7 separate regions of the Homo sapiens genome follow, and all the other regions are linked to region 6. The links are contacts of gene promoters, found by promoter capture Hi-C in blood cells and fetal thymus (Javierre and others, 2016). All regions are on one chromosome and are shown on one strand. Each heading gives the region's core, a stretch centred on a gene start or on the middle of the fragment in contact. The rest is flanking DNA. Distances are from core to core; before and after follow the strand shown.

Evidence for each region. Contacts are between HindIII fragments. The CHiCAGO score rates a contact against its expected background, and 5 or more counts as called.
Region 1: a fragment that was not itself captured here is called in contact with the fragment with the promoter of ASNS in region 6 in 2 of 17 cell types (monocytes and M0 macrophages); the score reaches 5.5 in monocytes.
Region 2: a fragment that was not itself captured here is called in contact with the fragment with the promoter of ASNS in region 6 in 3 of 17 cell types (M1 macrophages, M0 macrophages and endothelial precursors); the score reaches 8.4 in M1 macrophages.
Region 3: a fragment that was not itself captured here is called in contact with the fragment with the promoter of ASNS in region 6 in 5 of 17 cell types (erythroblasts, total B cells, M0 macrophages and 2 more); the score reaches 9.0 in erythroblasts.
Region 4: a contact is called between a fragment that was not itself captured here and the fragment with the promoter of ASNS in region 6, in 1 of 17 cell types (M1 macrophages). The highest score is 5.6, in M1 macrophages.
Region 5: a contact is called between a fragment that was not itself captured here and the fragment with the promoter of ASNS in region 6, in 1 of 17 cell types (M2 macrophages). The highest score is 5.4, in M2 macrophages.
Region 7: a fragment that was not itself captured here is called in contact with the fragment with the promoter of ASNS in region 6 in 4 of 17 cell types (M2 macrophages, monocytes, erythroblasts and 1 more); the score reaches 10.2 in M2 macrophages.

The regions. Positions count from the first base shown.
Region 1 is chr7:97,186,810-97,189,737 of GRCh38, reverse strand. All of the region lies in intron 1 of LOC124901704 (a long non-coding RNA gene), which reads left to right. Among named protein-coding and RNA genes, the nearest start is that of SDHAF3, 71 kb to the right of the region's middle. The HindIII fragment of the contact is 370 bases long and covers 1,201-1,570 here.
Region 2 is chr7:97,150,858-97,153,557 of GRCh38, reverse strand. The region is part of intron 1 of SDHAF3 (succinate dehydrogenase complex assembly factor 3); the gene reads right to left. All of the region lies in intron 2 of LOC107984034 (a long non-coding RNA gene), which reads right to left. Among named protein-coding and RNA genes, the nearest start is that of SDHAF3, 35 kb to the right of the region's middle. The HindIII fragment of the contact is 5,764 bases long and covers 1-2,700 here.
Region 3 is chr7:97,125,750-97,128,519 of GRCh38, reverse strand. The region is part of intron 1 of SDHAF3 (succinate dehydrogenase complex assembly factor 3); the gene reads right to left. Among named protein-coding and RNA genes, the nearest start is that of SDHAF3, 9.4 kb to the right of the region's middle. The HindIII fragment of the contact is 2,142 bases long and covers 208-2,349 here.
Region 4 is chr7:97,098,527-97,101,230 of GRCh38, reverse strand. No RefSeq gene overlaps it. Among named protein-coding and RNA genes, the nearest start is that of SDHAF3, 18 kb to the left of the region's middle. RefSeq lists a silencer at 2,673-2,704. The HindIII fragment of the contact is 8,667 bases long and covers 1-2,704 here.
Region 5 is chr7:97,082,462-97,085,161 of GRCh38, reverse strand. No RefSeq gene overlaps it. Among named protein-coding and RNA genes, the nearest start is that of SDHAF3, 34 kb to the left of the region's middle. The HindIII fragment of the contact is 2,931 bases long and covers 1-2,700 here.
Region 6 is chr7:97,870,869-97,873,819 of GRCh38, reverse strand. ASNS (asparagine synthetase (glutamine-hydrolyzing)) reads left to right here and starts at 1,412. Exons shown (of 13, transcript NM_001673.5): 1 at 1,412-1,469. All of the region lies in intron 7 of CZ1P-ASNS (CZ1P-ASNS readthrough), which reads left to right. RefSeq lists silencers at 1,181-1,270, 1,581-1,690 and an enhancer at 816-1,531. The HindIII fragment of the contact is 3,580 bases long and covers 1,067-2,951 here.
Region 7 is chr7:97,168,137-97,170,836 of GRCh38, reverse strand. All of the region lies in intron 1 of SDHAF3 (succinate dehydrogenase complex assembly factor 3), which reads right to left. Among named protein-coding and RNA genes, the nearest start is that of SDHAF3, 52 kb to the right of the region's middle. The HindIII fragment of the contact is 2,565 bases long and covers 48-2,612 here.

The DNA of each region.
Region 1 (2,928 bases), core at 136-2,635, 680 kb after region 6:
CTGATTTCCATTATTGTTCTTGAGAAGTCAGCTTAAGATTAGTTGTGAGGAAGATTCACTGTGCACTGCTTACCACTTTAGCCCACTGCATCTTGCACTGCAGTCTCTACTACTTCCAAGAGTCTGGTGAGACAGGACATTCACACACATGTTTCATGAAGTCGTCTTATTAATTGTAGGTAGGCAGTAAGGAAAAACAGTAGCCCAGGATTCATGACAAGCAAGTCTCCAAAGGCTGAGGAAAGCTGCCTAGGGCAGATTGGGACTCATCTGTGCATACTCTACTTGCACTGTCACGGAGAGCCCCTGGATTTTGAAAGCCGTACCCCCTAGGAGGTGACATGGGCCGCTGGGTTAAAGTGGTGAAGGACACCCTGTTCCAGGAGGGACAGGAACAGAGCCTGGGCTGTTCTGGACAATTCTTTATTAGGATGTTGTATTCCTGGCACATTTCTACAAGAACTACAAGTGAGAAAGTGGAGAATAGCTGGGTCACCAAAGCCATCCAGGGACTTGTCCTGTACTAGCTGAGGTTCCCTTGTGACTTTTGTTTCGGCTGCTTTTACAAGTTATTGGCATTCTGCTGCTTCAATACGGTATGTCTAAGAATGAGGATTTTATATCTATCCTGCTTAGGATAAATCCATAGACTATGTGTTTCATTGATTTGAAAAAGTCTCAGGAAATATAGCTTCAAATATTGGTTCTGCCTCGGTATCTATCTGAAACTATTAGATATACATGACACTCTTGTGTTTTAACCACCTCTCATATTCTCAAGTTTGTTTTTCATGCGGAATTCTGGATACTTTCTTTTGGTTCTGTATTGCAGTCACTAATTCTCATTATTTCAAGTCCATCTTGTCTTTTGAACTTATCCATTAGGGTTAATTTTTTAATTTTAGTTATTCTATTTTCTACTTCTATAAGAAGTTCCATTTGGTTCTTTTTCAAATATGCCAGCCTACTTTTTATAATGCCTTGTTTCTTGCAGATATTTCCAAATAACTTTTAAGTTTAAACATGTGAACACGTTTTATATTATACATGTGTTAATTCCAATATCTGAGTTTTCTGGTGGTCTGTCTCTGCTGCCTCTTAGTCATGGTGCTAGCTTTCCATGTGGAGTCTGCTTGTTTACTGAAACTTGAGGATTCACTTTTCTGGAAATTATCTGTGACCCGAGTATCCTCAAAAGCTTGTTTACATTTGTCAGGTACTCATTCTGGGGCCATATATTAAATTTATAGCTTAAGTTTTGTTTTAGTACACAGATGACTTGAATCCAGGATAGCCTGCAATTCTGTACAAGTACTGGAGCAAGTTTTCTTCTGGCTCACTCTAACCCTGAGGGTATATATAGTCTTTAGGGTCCTGTCTTTCTGGAAAAACCGTTTATGACTCTCCAACTTACGTGGGTTCTGTGCTTTGTCTTCTGCCCACTGTGTCCCAAAGGACCATCAAAACCAAAGTAGAAATTCATCTTAGGGTAAAAGAGGCTTTGCCAGTTTCACTTAGCAATATTGGCCTTATAATTAATCTCTTAGGGTATTGCCAGCTCCTAGAAGCTTCTAAAAAATACTTTTTCTACTCTACCTAAAAGTTTTCATTTTCAGCAGAACTGCTCAGATTAGCATTGTTTGCCACATTACTGAAAAGAAAATCTAAAATTTTATTTAAAATCCCATATATTTCATAGCATCATTTTCTCACCTATCAATGTCAGGAAATGTTCCATGTCATTAAAAATTCTTCATAAACCTACATTTAAACTACTTCGTTATACATGTCATCACAACTCACTTAACCTTTTAAGTATTTGGGGGAGTTCTGCTGTTCCAAATTCACTCAAATATCATTTTTAATAACATGATTATGTGAAAAACTGCACATTCCTGAATATCTTTTCTTTAGGATAGAATCTTAGAAATAAAATTTACGGGTTCAAAAAGTACCAATGTTCTTAAAGTTCTTAATATATATTTCCAATTTATTTTCAATAAGCTGTATCAGATTCCTCTCAACCACCAAGTACAATGGTAAGAAGCCAATTGTGCCATGTATCACTACCATTAAGTACAATCCAAACACCCTCCTCCACTCCAAATGTTAAGCAGGGAAATAGGATTTGCATATCACTAAGGTGACTGGCTGCAAGTAACATACTAAAAAAACAGGCTGGAGACAAGAAAGCCATATATAGATTGCTACAGAAAAAAATTGTAAGTCTAAAGTATCAGACTAATAGTCAGAAAAGGGGGAATGAGTGATTTTGAGACAGTAAGGCAGTACAGTGTATCAGCCCTAACTATATAATAAGCTGCCCCAGAATGTACTGATTTAAAAGAACTGCCATTAATTTAGCTTGTAATTGGCAATTTGGACTGGGATTAGCTGTCATGGCTAAGCTCACTCATATAAATGTGGTTGGCTGAGAGCTGGCTGGTCTAGGATGACTCACCTTTGCTCCACATGATCTGATCCTCTGGTAGGCCAGCCCTAGTTTGCTCACATGGCAGTTGGACAGATGTCCAATAGTGCCGGCAGAAGTATGCAAGGCTCTGAGGGCCCAGAACCTAAGTTTGCATAATATTACTCCCTCATTCTTTTGAGCAAATCAAGTCACAAGGCCTGCAGATTTGAATAACTGAAAAACAGATTAATAGGCACTGCAAAGTTACCTTGCAAAGGGCATGGGTACAAGGAGTGGTAGAGAACTATGAGCATTTTGTGATCCACCATGTAGTGTTGTCAGAATTGCTGAATAATGAGGAAGAGGCCTGTAGGGAAATGGTGAAATCGAAGCAAAATTGCAAAAATCTGAACTGGTAAACTGTGTACATGTTATTTTTTTTATTTTTATTTTTTATTATACTTTAAGTTCTAGGGTACATGTGCACAATGTGTAGGTTTGTTACATATGTATAC
Region 2 (2,700 bases), core at 62-2,561, 720 kb after region 6:
ATCCAAAGAAGTTGAAAAATTATGTACACTCAAAACCCTGCAAACGGATGTTTACTGCAGCTTCATTCATAATTGACAAAACTTGGAAGCAACCAGGATATCCTTCAGTAGGTAAATGAACAAACTGCAGTACACCCAGACAATGAAATATTTATCAGAGCTAAAAAGAAATGATCAAGCCATGAAAAGACACATAGGAAACTTAAACGCATATTACCAAATAAAAGCAGCCAAGAAGCCAATTTGAAAAGGCTACATTCTGTATGATTCCAACATGTAACACGCCAGAAAAGGCAAAACTAGGGTGAGAGTACACAGATCAGTGGAGAAACCACCTTTGCAAAAATTACAAGTGAGAAAATTATGACAGCAAAAGAGATATGACCTAATCAACTGCATCGTGACTTTAACCTCCCAACTGCCCTTGTTCATTCCTAGGTGTAGGTCTAGCTAACTTTGTGAGGAATTTACACTTTAATTTTGAAACAAAGACAGTGACAGGCCCTCCCCAAAACAAACATCCTCCTTGCTTGGAGACTAGATCACCTTTGTAAAACTAACAAATTTGCCACAAAATAAGAAATAATGGCTCAGGGCCAGATGCAGTGGTTCATGCCTGTAATCCCAGCACTTTGGGAGGCCATGGCGGGCATGGCGGGAGACCATTGCTTGAGGTCAGGAGTTCAAGACTGGCCAAGATGGCAAAACCCTGTCTCTACTAAACCACCACGCCTACAAAAATTTGCTGGGCATGGTGGCACACATCTGTAGTCCCAGCTACTCAGGAGGCTGAGGCACAAGGATCGCTTGAACCTGGGAGGCAGGGGTTGCAGTGACCTGAGATTGCGCCATTGCAATCCAGCCTGGGCGAAAGAGCGAGACTCCATCTCAAAATAAATAAATAAATAAATAAATAAACAAAATAATGGCTCAGAAGTCACGCAGTCAGAGGCCATAAACTTCCTAACCTCCTCAATTGCTCCTATGGATAACATTACTACTGTAAAACCTAAGACTGATGTTTGACATATTTTTCAGACCCTGCATTCTAATGGATCCACTGGTGTTACCCAGACCCATAAACTGGGATATCTGGTCTTGTGACCTCCCACCCAGGAACTGACTCCATGCAAGAGGACAGATTCAACTCCCTATTATTTCATCCCTAACTTAACCAATCAGCATTTCCCATTCCCTAGTCCATGCCTGCCAAACTATCTTTCAAAAACCCTAGCTTCCAAATTTTCAGGGAGGCTGATATGAGTAATACCAAAACTCCAGTCTCCAATTTAGTTGGCTCTATGTGTATGAAACAGTTTCTCTATTGCAATTCCCATCTTGATAAATTGGCTTCATCTGGCAGAAGGCAAGTAGAACCCATTGGGGGTTACAGTTGTGGGTTATCAGAGGTTGGTGAGGGGGATGAACCGGCAGGGCAGAGAGAATTTTTAGGGCAGTGAAAATATACTATATACTACTATAAAGATGGATACATGTCGTTATACATTTGTCTAAACTCACAGAAAGTAAGAAAACAAGAGTAAACCCTACATGTAAATGATGAACTCTGGGTGATCTTAATGTGTCAATGTAGTATTGGGGCTCAGAAAATGATACCCCAAAGTAAGGCTCTTTGGTATCATGACTGGGGAACAGCAGGGAACCAGTGGATGCAAGCTGAAGTTTTCTCTGAGGACCCCTAATCTGCCTAAAGATGGATCTGGAAAGACCGTACCACAGGAAAAAGAGACTAAAGGTTGGCCGAGCGTGGTGGCTCATGCCTGTAATCCCAGCACTTTGGGAGGCCGAGGCAGGCAGATCACGAGGTCAGAAGATTGGGACCATCCTGGTGAACACTGTGAAACCCCGTCTCTACTAAAAATACAAAAAAATTAGCCAGGCATGGTGGCAAGCGCCTGTAGTCCCAGCTACTCGGGAGGCTGAGGCAGGAGAATGGCAGGAACCCGGGGGGCAGAGCTTGCAGTGAGCGGAGATTGTGCCACTGCACTCCAGCCTGGGGGACAGAGGGAGACTCCAACTCAAAAAAAAAAAAAGGACTAAAGGTTAGCAACCTCACCCAGAGCAGCTTTACCCATTCTTTGGAGGGCTGCTCCCCGAGATATTTTAATCTATGTAGCAAGACAACCTTTGTTCCCTAGATTTCTTCCCCTCACCCTCCCAAAGCCTGTCTGTCCTCACCTCCACTCCCTAGAAGCCCCAAGCCCCTATTTCTTTCTGCAGCTACAGATATTATAAAAATTCCAATCATCTGGCCTTTCTGAGTCTTTTATTTTGTGAGACTCTCGTGTATATGCACATAATAAATCCGTATGCCTTTCTCCTATTAATCTGTCTGCTTTCAGTTTATCACAGATTCAACTACAGAAACTTCGGAGTGTGCAGTAAAAGTTCCCGTCACCCCTACAGTTTGTTCATCTATTGTAACAAATGTACTACTCCAGTGGGGGATGCTGATAATGGGAGAGGTTATGCATATGTTGGGGCAGAAGGTATATGGAAAATCTCTGTGCTTTCCTCTTAATTTTGCCAAGAACCTAAAACTAATCTTAATATATTAAGTCTTAAAACACACTAACAAACAACTGACAGCCAGGCGCAGTGGTGCAGGCCTGTAGTCCCAGCTACTGAGTATTTTAACCCCGCTATTCAGACTACTGATCAGAAAAAGATTCCTAGGCC
Region 3 (2,770 bases), core at 29-2,528, 750 kb after region 6:
CCATTATTTTAAATCTGAAAATTTTGAATCATTTAAATAAAAGAAACATACACCTGTCTTCCAGTAACATACCATAAAGTCAATAATATATGCAATATTGATCAAACTATAATTTTTACTTTGTTACTTTATCATGAGCATTGTTATAACACATTTTATAACACCAATAAAAATTAAATATTCCTAAGTAGTAATATCTTAAAAGCTTCACTAATAATGCAAGTGTTTCAGACATGAAAAAGTAGAAAACATTCTATGTTGCAAGGATAAACTGTTTTGTATCTTCTCTTGTACCCCTTTTTAAACCATTAGTTAAGGACCACAGTATGGTTAAAATGTTTTAAAAGTTAAAACTTGACTTTGGGAGGCCGAGGCAAGTGGATCACTTGGTGTCAGGAGTTTGAGACCAGCCTGGCCAACATGGTGAAACCCCATCTCTACTAAAAATATAAAAACTAGCCAGATGTGGTGGACGCCTGTAATCCCAGCTACTTGGGAGGCTGAGGCAGGAGAACTGCTTGAACCCAGGAGAAGGAGGTTGCAGTGAGCCGACGCAGTGCCACTGCACTCCAGCCTCAGCGACAGAGGGAGACTCAGTCAAAAAAAAAAAAAAAAAAAAAAACTTGATGTAGAAAACATATATGTGTGACAAATCACCATTCAATAAACCATCACAAAAACACCGACAATGAGTAAAATGCAGAATTAACAATTTGACTGAGACCCAACTGACCCACTCATACTTGGGAAATGTATCCCTGACACATACAATCCATTCACTAAACAGAGAAGCAATTCATTCCTTTTCTCCTGCAAGCTAAAACTATAAATCAAGATGTTCAAGAGTAACAAAATGAGGTCCACAAATTAGGTAAGAGAAGCATACATTTATAAAAACTAGCCAAATACCCATCCAATCCTAATTATACTAAGGAAACTCTAAATATAGGTGACATGCCACTTAATAATACATGTGTATATATGATACATACATACAAATGATGATCCACTTCAAAATCATATATAAGAAAAAGACATCCCATGAGAGTTACAAAGGAATGGCTACCTGAAGTCTGAAGCATTTCCTCCTCTCGAACAAATGCAACAAAATAAAATGGGAAAGAAAATGTTATAATAACTAAATTATCACACAAGTATAAAGAATTGAACATAATCAAGAAGAGCAGTTACAGTCAGTCCGTGATACCGGGATCATTGCCTTTACTTGAAGAGAAGAAAAAGAAAATGGATTCTCTTGGATCTGGCAAGATAGCCAAATAGGAACAGCTCTGGTTGGCAGCTCCAAGCAAGACCAATACATAAGGCAGGTGATTTCTCCATTTCCAACTAAGGTACCCTGTTCATCTCACTGGGACTGGTTAGGCAGTGGGTGCAGCCCATGGAGGGCGAGCAGAAGCAGCATGGGGTGTTGCCTCACCCAGGAAGCGCAAGGAGTTGCGGGGAGGTGAGGGGCTCCCTTTCCCAGCCAAGGGAAGCCATGAGGGACTGTGCTATCCGGCCCAGATACTATGCTTTTCCCATGATTTTTGTAATCCGAAGACCAGGAGATTCCCTCGTGTGTCTACACCACCAAGGCCCTGGGTTTCAAGCTCAAAGCTGGGCAGCTATTCGGGCAGACACCGAGCTAGCTGCAGGGTTTTTTTTTTTTTTTTTCGGTACTCCAGTGGTGCCTGGAACCCAGGCAAGACAGAACCGTTCACTTGCCTGGAAAGGGAGCTGAAGCCAGGGAACCAAGTGGTCTCGCTCAGCAGGTCCCACTCCCATGAAGGCCAGCAAGCTAAGAACCACTGGCTTGAATTTCTCGCTGCCAGCACAAGTCTGAAGTCGACCAGGGATGACACAGCTTGGTGGGGGGAGGGGCATCTGCCATTACTGAGGCTTGAGTAGGCTGTTTTCCTCTGACAGTACTAAGGACTGGGAGGAACTCAACGTAACGCAGCAAAGCAGCTGTGGCCAGACTGCCTCTCTAGATTCCTCCTCACTGGGCAGGGCATCTCTGAAACAAAGGCAGCAGCCCCAATCAGGGGCTTACAGATAAAACTCCCATCTCCCTGGGCCACAGCACCTGGGGGAAGGGGCAGCTGTGGGCACAACTTCAGCAGACTTAAATGTTCCTGCCTGACGGCTCTGAAGAGAGCAGCGGATGCTGACAAGGAGGGCTTTCGCAGGACGGTGCTTGAGCTCCACTAAGGGACAGACTGCTTCCTCAACTGGGTCTTTGACCCCCATGCCTCCTGACTGGAAGAGACCTCCCAACAGGGGTTGACAGACACCTCATACAGGAGAGCTCTGGCTGGCATCAGGCTGGTGCCCCTCTGGGACGAAGCTTCCAGAGGAAAGAGCAGGCAGCAATCTTTGCTGTTCTGCAGCCTCTGCTGGTAATACCCAGGCAAATAGGGTCTGGAGTAGACCTCCAGCAAACTGCAGCAGATCTGCAGAAGAGGGGCCTATTAGAAGAAAAACAAACAGAAAGCAGCAACATGAACAGCAACAAAAAAGACCCTCACACAAAACCCCATCCAAAGTAAATCCATGAAGATGAGGAAACACCAGCACAAAAATGCTGCAAATTCCAAAAACCAGAATGCTTCTTCTCCTCCAAATGATTGCAACTCCTCTCCAGCAAGGACACAAAACTGGATGGAGAATGAGTTTGATGAATTGACAGAAGTAGGCTTCAGAAGGTAGGTAATAACAAACTCCTCTGAGCTACGGAGGCATGTTCTAACCCAATGCAAGGAAGCTAAGA
Region 4 (2,704 bases), core at 11-2,510, 770 kb after region 6:
TTCTCAGGGGGAATGCTTTCAACTTTTCCCCATTTAGTATAATGTTGGCTGTGGGTTTGTCATAGATGGCTTTTATTACCTTGAGGTATGTCTCTTCTATGCCAATTTTGCTGAGGGTTTTCATCATAAAGGCATGCTGAATTTTGTCAAATGCTTTTTCTGCATCTATTGAGATGGACATGTGATTTTTGTTTTTAATTGTTTGTGTAGTGTATCACATTTATTGACTTGTGTATGTTAAACCATCGCTGCATCCCTGTTATGAAACCCACTTGATCATGGTGTATTATCTTTTTGATATGCTGTTGGATTTGATTAGCTAGTATTTTTGTTGAGGATTTTTGCATCTGTGTTCATCAGGGATATTGGTCTGTAGTTTTCTTTTTTCTTATGTCATTTTCTGGCTTTGGTATTAGGGGGATACTGACTTCATAGAATGATTTAGGGAGGAATTCCTCTTTCTCTATCTTGTGAAATAGTTTCAGTAAGATAGGTACCAATTCTTCTCTGAATGCCTGATAGAATTCAGCTGTGAGGCCGGGTGTGGTTGCTCATGCCTGTAATCCCGGCACTTTGGGAGGCCAAGGCAGGTGGATCACGAGGTCAGGAGTTCTAGATCAGTCTGGCCAACATAGTGAAACCCCATCTCTACTAAAAATACAAAAAATTAGCTGGGTGTGGTGGTGTACACCTGTAATCCCAGCTACTCGGGAGGCTGAGGCAGGAGAATCACATGAACCTGGGAGGCAGAAGTTGCAGTGAGCCGAGATTGTGCCATTGCACTCCAGCCTGGGTGACGGTGCGAGACTCCGTCTCGGGGAAAAAAAAAAAAAAAAAAAGAATTCAGCTGTGAATCCATCTGGTCCTGGACTTTTTTTGATTGGTAATTTTTTTATTACTGTTTCAATATCACTACTTGTTACTGGTCTATTCAGAGTTTCTATTTCTCCCGGATTTAATCTAGGAGGGTTGTATATTCCCAGGAATTTATCCATCTCCTTTAGGTTTTCTAGTTTGTGTGCATAAAGGTGTTCATAGTAGCCTTGAATGATCTTTTGTATTTCTGTGGTATCAGCTGTAGTATTTCACATTTCATTTCTAATTGAGCTTATTTGGATCTTCTGTCTTCTTTTCTTGATTACTGTTGCTACTGGCCTATCAATTTTATTTATCTTTTCAAAGAACCAGCTTTTTGTTTCATTTATCTTTTGTATTTTTTTTTGTTTCAATTTCATTTAGTTCTGTTCTGATCTTTGTTATTTCTTTTCTTCTGCCGGGTTTGGGTTCTTGTTTCTCTAGTTCCTTGAGGTGTGACCTTAGGTTGTCATTTTGTGCTCTTGCAGACTTTTTGATGTAAGGATTTAATGCTGTGAAATTTCCTCTTCGCACTTTTTTTTGCTGTGTCCCAGAGGTTTTGGTAAGTTGTGTAACTATTATCATTCAGTTCAAAGAATTTTTAAATTTCCATCTTGATTTCATTATTGATCCAAAGATCATTGAGGAGAGATTATTTAATTTCCATGCATTTGTATAGTTTTAAGGATTTCTTTTTTTTTTTTTTTTTTGAGACGGAGTCTCGCTCTGTCGCCCAGGCCGGACTGCGGACTGCAGTGGCGCAATCTCGGCTCACTGCAAGCTCCGCTTCCCGGGTTCACGCCATTCTCCTGCCTCAGCCTCCCGAGTAGCTGGGACTACAGGCGCCCGCCACCGCGCCCGGCTAATTTTTTGTATTTTTAGTAGAGACAGGGTTTCACCTTGTTAGCCAGGATGGTCTCGATCTCCTGACCTCATGATCCACCCACCTCGGCCTCCCAAAGTGCTGGGATTACAGGCGTGAGCCACCGCGCCCGGCCGTTTTAAGGATTTCTTTTGGAATTAATTTCCAATTTTATTTCACTGTGATCTGAGAAGCTATTTTATATAATTTCAATTTTCTTAAATTTATTGAGACTTGTTTTGTGGCCCATGATATGATCTGTTTTGGAGAATGTTCCATATGCTGATGAAAAGAATGTATATTCTGCAGTTCTTGGGTAGAATGTTCTGTAAATATCTGTTAAGTCCATTTGTTCTAGGGTATAATTTAAGTTCATTGTTTCTTTGTTGACTTTCTGTCTTGATGACCTGTCTAGTGTTGTCAGTACAGTATTGAAATTCCCCACTATTATTTTGTTGCCATCTATTTCATTTCTTATGTCTAGTAATACTTGTATTATAAATTTGGGAGCTCCCATGTTAGGTGCATATATATTTAGGATTGTGATATTTTCCTGTTGGACTAATCCTTTTATCATTACATAATGTTCCTCTTTGTCTTTTTAAACTGTTGTTGCTTTGAAGTCTGTTTTGTCTGATATAAGAATACAGTATCTATCCTTCATTATTACAAATTTAAGGTGAGTAAGTCATATTCAGCTAGATTCCAGCTCTGCCACTTTTGAAGTCTATGCCTTGGGCTAGTTGTTTAACCTCTCTGGACTTCAGTTTCCCCTCTTAAAATGAGAATGTTGGTAGGTACTTAAAAAGCATCTGTTAGGCTGGGCTCAGTGGCTCATGCCTGTAATCCCAGCACTTTGGGAGGCAGAGACGGAAGAATCACCTGAGGTCAGGAGTTTGAGACCAGCCTGGCCAACATGGCGAAACCCTGTCGCTACTAAAAACACAAAAATTAGCCGGGTGTGGTGGTGGGTGCCTGTAATCCCAG
Region 5 (2,700 bases), core at 12-2,511, 790 kb after region 6:
TCCTACTTCACCATGGTAAGATGTGCCTGGCTTCTCCTTCGCCTTCCACCATGATTGTAAGTTTCCTTAGGCCTCCCCAGCCATGTGTGACTGTGAGTCAATTAAACCTTTTTCCTTTATAAACTACTTGGTCTCGGGTATGTCTTTATAGCAGTGTGAAAATGGACTAATACGGTGCTTTCCTCCCTGATTTTTGACAAGGGCTCCCCATTTTTATTTTGCACTAGGCTTTACAAATTATGTAGTCAGCTCCACAAAGAGTAAGAGGAATTCTGCCTTTAAAACGTTTATTTACTTGCAATTATGTTTATATAATTGCAAAAAGTTTAAGGATTTCCAATAATTCCTAATCTCCTACTCTTTTTTTTAATTTGTCACCTCACCGTTTCTCTGAAGACTCCTCAGTTTTCCAGAAAACCTGAGTTTTAGTATCAGATTCTTGGAAACAATTGTTCCACTATCACTTGCACCATTTTTGTCAGTCATTTTGAATAAAAACTATTCACTAAATACAAGCTAAATGGGAGAAAGAGAGCCCCTAAAAGAATAAACAGTATTGCCGGGCACAGTGGCTCACCTCTGTAATCCCAACATTTTGGGGAGCTGAGATGGGTGGATTGCTTGAGGTCAGGAGTTCAAGACCAGCCTGGCCAATATGGTGAAACCCTGTCTCTACCAGAAATATAAAAAACTAGCCAGGTGTGGTGGCATGCACCTGTAATCCCAGCTCCTCAGGAGGCTGAGTCAGGAGAATACCTTGAACCCAAAAGGCAGAGGTTGCACTGAGCTGAGATTGTGCCACTGCACTCCAGCCTGGGCAACAGAGTGAGACTCTGTCTCAAAAAATAAAACATAAAATAAAAAGAATAAACAGTATCTACTACACAGTACTCTCAATTTGGGATAGCAGAGCCCTAGTCCTCCTTGGCCTAATAATACAGCCCACTAGGTGTCATTGGCTGAGAGAGTACATTAATATTTAGAGCATGGGAAAAATATATTAAACATGCACAATCATGATTTCACTTAATATATTTGTAAAGAAAAATACTATGCAAATTATGGAACAAATCACTTGTACGCTATATATCATTAAGGAGCCATGTGCTTACAATTTTGTATCCTGCATTCTTCACTTAATACTTAAATGTTTCTCCCAATGTATCTACTATAATTAGCTTATTATTTTCTTACTTCTGGATATTAGTTGTTTCTGGTTTTGTGCTTCAAACTCCCACATTTAGAATTACTTCCTTAGGATATATTCCCCTTAGGACAAATAATATGATATTGATTTAAAAAAATTGATATTTTCAAATTGCTCTTAAAAAATGTTACAGAAATTTCTAGTCCACAAACTTGAGCATTTCACAGTGTCTTGGTCCATTTTCTGGTGCTATGACAGAATATCAAGGACTGGGTAATTTATAAAGAAAAGTTTACTAGGCTCATGGTTCTGGAGGCTGGGAAGTCCAAGAGTATGACACCTGGCATCTGGTGAGGGTCATCACAGGTGGAAGAGCAGAAGACAGAGGGCAAGAAAGTAAGTGTGAGAGACAATTGCTTTTCTAACAAAGCCACTCCCACAATAACTAAATCACTCTCACAATAAGAAAAGTAATCCATTCATAAGGGAGTAGCCTTCATGACCTCATTGACTCCCAAAGGCCCTCCTCTCAACACTACCACAATGGCAACTAATTTTCCAACACATGAACTTTTGGGGGACACATTCAAACCATAGCATACAGCATCCTTTCCAACACAAATTTGTCACTTAATTATCAATTAATTAATCATTTCCCAATTCAAAAAGTAAATCGTACCTTATTGTTTTAATTTGCATTTCTTTGATTACTAGTAAGACTAAACATTTACTAATCATTTTTTAATACCTCTTTAGTAGACTGTCTTTGTATATACGTATATACCTTTAAAAAATTAATAGGATATTGCAACATTAGTGCTGGGCTTACATCCTACCAGCATAGTAATGCTGGCAAAAATAAATTCTCTTTCCCAAACTGATGATCACTAGATTGGATACGAAAACACACACACACTCTTGACCAGTCATCATAGGTAAAGGATAGAGTAGTACCTTCATTTTCAAGGTTTTGGTCATATGCCCAACCCATTATGCTGGTGGATGGAGTCATCCCTAGTTGAGCTGGGAGCAACAAACATCACTGCCCAATACAAATTCCTGAAACAGACTCAGGAAAACTACACAGTCTTCTAACTTTAGACATCATAGCGTATGGGGTTCAGTGTATTTCCACACCTTCAATTGGGTATAAATTCTCCTGAGCTAAAGGGAATTGTGGAACAGCTTATCACAAAATGACCATTTGTAAAAGACAGAATGTACTTGAAGGTGATCAATTATCAAGTGCTTAACTTCCTACATATAAAAACTAATGCTCCCTTTTAGAACCAGGCATCTGTTAAAAGCAAGCATTGTTTGAGATCTATTGTATACAGTATTTTATGAAAACATTAAGTTGTATCTTTAATGCATGTCCAAACAAAACTTACCTTGACACATCAGCCATTATTATCTTTTCCTCTGAGTAAAATGTGTCTGGATTGAAGTAGAACAATAAAAACATTTGCACAAAAAATGGAAAAGTATCTCTTTTAAGAGATATACTTTCAGCTTATAGTGTTCAGAGAGATGTAAACCATGAGAAGTTGATT
Region 6 (2,951 bases), core at 163-2,662:
CAAGCAGGAGATACGCAGCACAAGGAAGCACACTAGGTAACACACCAAGCAGGGGAACCTGTCTTTCACTACATAGGCAAGATGCTACGGGAAATGGGCTCTGGGTTTACACAGATTATGACTCAGTTCTCTACTGTTGTGAAGCTGTGTTTGGATAAATCCCTCAACTTTTCTGAGTCTTATTTTTTCATTTGTAAAATGTAGATAGAAGACCTACTTTCCCACATTGCTCTCAGGTTTAAAGTACGTCAATTAGGATACAGCAAAGTCTGTTTGATACTGAAAACTTTCCAGCAACAATGAACCTTAGAACAAGTCATCTCTCATCTTTGCTCTTGCCTGTAACTACTAAGCGACTACTCCATCTTCTGTTCTTAGGGATTTTAAATTGTTGACGTTTTTGATTTAGTCAGGAATGCGTTGTATGGGGATATCAAACCTGCATGCTCTCCAAGCATTGACTGTAGTCTGATCTTAGTAGGTCGTGCACATATAATTTTACTATTTCTCAATTTATTTCGGTGCTGATGTAATTAGTAAAATACGATTTAAGAGTGTTATGATACTTTTTAAAAATCGTGATGTCTTTTCTTCATCAAAGAGATACTTAAAAGCACATAATCATCTTGTGGAGGCAAGTTGACAAAATCCTTTTTGAGATTCTAAAAGGAATCTTTGTACTTAAAATGTTTAAGGACCACTGATGTATTTTGGCTTCATGTATCAATTAGATTTAGATTTTATTGTTTTAGAGATGGGGGTCTCCCTTTGTCGCCCAGGCTGGAGTTGAGCTCACCTCAGCCTCAAACGCCTGGGCTCAAACTATCCTTCTGCCTCAGCCTCCTGAGTTGCTGGGACTACCATGGTGTGCCACCAATTTTTATAGAGATGTGATCTCGCTGTGTTTCCCAGGCTGGTCTTGAACTCCTGGTTTCAAGTGATCCTCTTGCCTTGGCTTCCCAAAGTGTTGGGATTACAGGCGTGAGCCACCGCTCCTGGCCCCGATTTATTAATAGATCTTATAAGGACATTTTAGGCCTCACGCATCAGTTTCTTAGGACAAGCTTTTCTCTGCACTGCATAATAAATCAGACGGCAGTGCAACAAAAAAACGGTGATGATTTCCCGAAGAACAAACCAAGTTCAGAAGCCTCCCTAATTGTCAGAACAGCAGGTAGCCTGGGCGGAGCTCTGAGGCTATCCTTAAACAGGCGCACTGAGACGCAAGGCGCTGGAAACAAAAGAGCTCCTCCTTGCGCCCTTCCGCCGCCCCACTTAGTCCTGCTCCGCCCCGGACACCCCGCGGCCCCGCCCCTGTGCGCGCTGGTTGGTCCTCGCAGGCATGATGAAACTTCCCGCACGCGTTACAGGAGCCAGGTCGGTATAAGCGCCAGCGGCCTCGCCGCCCGTCAAGCTGTCCACATCCCTGGCCTCAGCCCGCCACATCACCCTGACCTGCTTACGCCCAGGTGAGCCGGGTCCTGCGCCCCGTGCCCTGCGCCCCGCGCCAGCATCCTCCTCGCGTGCCCTGGGGCTGCTCCGGAAGGAAGGGGTGGAGGATGCGGTCTTCAGCCTGGCACCCGGCAGACGCGGTTCGCGGGCGCCTGCTGATGCTGCGGCTCCTGCGGTAGGGAGGGCGGGGCGGACGCCTAGCGATTGTTACGCACCTGACAGCTAGCGGAAGGACCTTTCTGTCCTGGTTCCCTGAAGCATCGAGAGGGAACCGCGGCCGGCAGGCCGGACCGCTCCGGAGAGGAGGCAGCGGCAGTTTGAGCCCCTGTAAATGTTATATGTGTACTTTTTTTTACTATGTGGCGTCGAAGCCTGTGGACATTTTCGCGGTCCGGGTCCCTGCGGCGGACGGGTCGGATCGTGCTCGTGGCCAGGGCGCAGTCAGGTGTCGCGTGGTCCTGATCTAGGAAGAGACTGCGGCCTTATCACCGTCTCGGTGTCTGCTTTCACCTTCAACTGCCCCCCTCCTCACCTGGACCGCTCACCCTCCTCCTCCCCTCTCACCCCGCCATCCCCACCAGTCCCCACCTGTCTCTGTAGACTGCAAGACTCATCAAGTGACTTGCTGAGCAAACCCTGCCGAGAAGAGGTCTGTTTAGGGACACAGGCGACCAAGTACAGAAAAAGGCAAAAGAACTAGCATGCCTTTTTCAATGGCTGTCATTTTGCAGGGCTGGCTTCAGATGATTGTTATAGCTTTAAATAAAAAGGACAGTTTTCATCTCGGCCCGTGGCCTACATTATTTCTTTACTGTCCATTGCCCTGGGCGCTTGACTAATAATTTAACAGCAGTTTTTTTTTTTAAATTTTAAATCATGATTCATAGCATTGCTGTAAGAGTAATTAGAGGTAAAGTAGGGCTTGAACCTGTCTGTAGTTGGTTACTTACTGAGATCTTAATATAAAAGTAAAGGGAGAGGGTGAAGTTGTAAGTAGCACTAAGTGGAATAGAAATTAAATGCACTGAAACTGCCATGTCCAGTTCGGTAGGCGCTAGCCACCTGTAACTGTTGAGCACTTGAAGTGCTGGCTAGTCCTAACTGAGATGTATTGTGTTAAATACACTGGATTTTGTCGTTGGAGTAGGAAGAACAGTGTAAAATATCTGCTCGATAATATTTTATATTGATTACATATATGTTAAAATGTTACTATTTGGGACATACTGAGTTAAGTTTATTTAAAATTAATTTCACCTTTTTCTTTTAATGGGGCTACTAGTATATTTAAAATTACATATGTGGCTTACATATATATTTATTGGACAGCACTGTTCTAGAAGTTTAGGAAGAAATAAGAAAAATATTGAGAACAGGTAGCGGCAGTAGGAACTTTGCCCTCCTATAAGACTGATTCCAATAAAAATAATAGGTTATAGTTTTAATTGGCTTTTTCCTACTAGAAAAAATAAGTGTACTTTACATGCCTCTTTGTTCTC
Region 7 (2,700 bases), core at 81-2,580, 700 kb after region 6:
AACACTAGTGTCACTAATAAGTCAATTTCTCAGGTGGCCATGAAGCTTAGCCTCTGTGAAGTCAAATTCCCCAGGTTCCTCTGTAAACCAAACTCAAGATTCACCTGTGACTCCCAGAGATGAGCAAAAAAAGGTGTTAGTTGTGACACAGCACAGCAAAGATAAAAAGAAAAAAAAGCAAGAACGTAGAAAGTTCTTGGCTAAGGAAGTAGTAAGGAAATGTTATAGAAAACCTAGTTCACAAATATTCTTTATATTTGTCTACTATAAACTCTATGTCCATGATATTGGACACTTACAAATCAAATGTCATAATGTCAGAAATGAGAAGTCAGCACAGAAAATAAGCACATTCTTGTTTATGAAATTCATCCCAAAGTTCCCAGAAACAATAATAGCATTGTACTTAAGGTAATATTACATAACTTATTTTACTTAATCTAAAAATGTATTCATAAAACTAATTTTAAAAATACATTTTCCTGATCATTTAGGTGAATGGACTACTTGTACATTTTATGTTTTATATATAACCTTTAATTTATTCTTTAGTAATATTAGAATACAGTGAGGCACAAGGAAACTTTCTGGAGTAATAGATTTTTGTTATCTTGAATGTGGTGACAGTTTCATGGGTGTATACATATTTCAAAACTCACCCAAGTATACACATTAATATGTGTGGTTCACTATGCATCAATGACACCACAGTAAAGCTGTTACGTTAAAAAAAAAAAACGAACTAGCCAACTCCTTACCTTACTCACTTATACCTCAATGGAGGTGAGGATGGGTTCTAGCAAAGTAGCAAGAAAATAAGTTTAACTGTAATACCTAAGGATGACAATGATCCAATTAGATAAGAATGTATATACACTACTGATTTAAAAATTGATGGGGAACAAAAAACAGCTTATAAAGCTAATATACAAAACTCAAAAAAGGCTTTTGAAAAAATTCTTCCAATTATTTTACTATCAATATTAGTCATCAAAAACAACTAAATTGTAATAGTTAAGAAAATAGAACAAAAAATTTCACTCGCAGACATTAAAAACATAAAGAGTTCAAAACTATAATTTTTTCTTTTTTTACATTTTTTATAATCAGGCTTTTTCTTTTCACTCTACAGAAAAACTGCATTTAGCAATAGATTTTTAACTACCTGTTCATCTGTAATGCAGGTTAATTCTATATTTAAAAAAATTATATAAACTAAAGGACATGATGCATTCAAATTCTATTTTGATGTAATCTGTTTAGAAAATCACCAATTTATTGAGAAAATAAAATTAGTATGTTTTATAACAAATTATTTACATTATAGCTGTCACCAAAAAAATGTATAGCAATCTGCATAATTCTTACTCTCCAAAGGAATCTATTATAACATCAAGTGAGTTACATCAAATCAAGTATTTTAAAAATTATATTTGATATATATTGAAATTGACAGTACTTTCACACAGTTCAATTTGGGGTAATACTGATCCAAAGCAGACGATCATGATATTAATACTTTTTTTTTGAGACAGTTTCGCTCTTGTTGCCCAGGCTGGAGTGCAGCGCCGCGATCTTAGCTCACTACATTCAAGTGATCCTCCTGCCTCAGCCTCCCAAGTACCTGGGATTACAGGCGCCCACCACCATGCCCAGCTAACTTTTGTATTTTTAGTAGAGGCAGGGTTTCAACACGCTGGCCAGGCTGGTCTTGAACTCCTGACCTCAAGTGATCCGTCGGCCTCCCAAAGTGCTGGGATTACAGGCATGAGCCACCGCACCCAGCCCTGAAAGGCAAATTTTAACAGAAAATTTAAATATATTCTAATGTCTTACAAGTTATCTTCTGCATTTGTTATTCTAATTAACCAAATGAAAGAGTGTAGCATTATCACAATCACATTTCACGTTACCCAGAGTCTACATATCTGTAATCAAACTAAAATATCAAACAAATAAGATAGCTTACTCACTAAAGGAGAATATAAGAATAAGTATGTAAGAAATGAACAGGATATTTATTTATAGGCTAAAAGAAAAGGGAACAAAAATTAGTTAAGTAACATAATAAAAAATGTAAAAGGCATGAAGAAAACACAAAAGCCAAGTGTATGAAACCTCTCACCTTGGAGTCAACACCTATCCCAATTACACCCCCGGTTAGCAGGAAGAAGTTAGAGCAGGTGTCACACTTTTTCCATCTTCATTAGCCCACACCTTAAGATTAAGGTGTTATAAAACCCAAAGGAAGGGATTGAAACCATCATTGCAAAATTATAACTGAGACAGTGAAAGAGATCTGACCTAACCAACTCCATCTTGCTTCTCATGTCCAAGGTATCCTTATTCATTCCTGGGCACAGGTTGAATTAACTTTGGGAGAATTTAGTTTACAGTTTTAAACAAATATAACACAATCTTTCCCAAAACAAACCCCCTTCTTGCCTGGGAACTAGACTGCTGTTGTAGGACTAACAAATTAGCCAAAAGATTATGATTTCAGACTCATGCAGCTGGAGGCTACAAGATTCTGACCCTCCCCCAAATTGCTCCTGGGGATAATATCACTGTTGTGAAACTTAAGATTGATGCAGGATTTTTTGCTCTAAGCTTAGTTCAGCTAAATCCAAGTTCTTGTCTCATGACCAGGAAAAATTAGGCACGTGAACACGTTGAAGGGTGATGAGGGCAGAATTCATT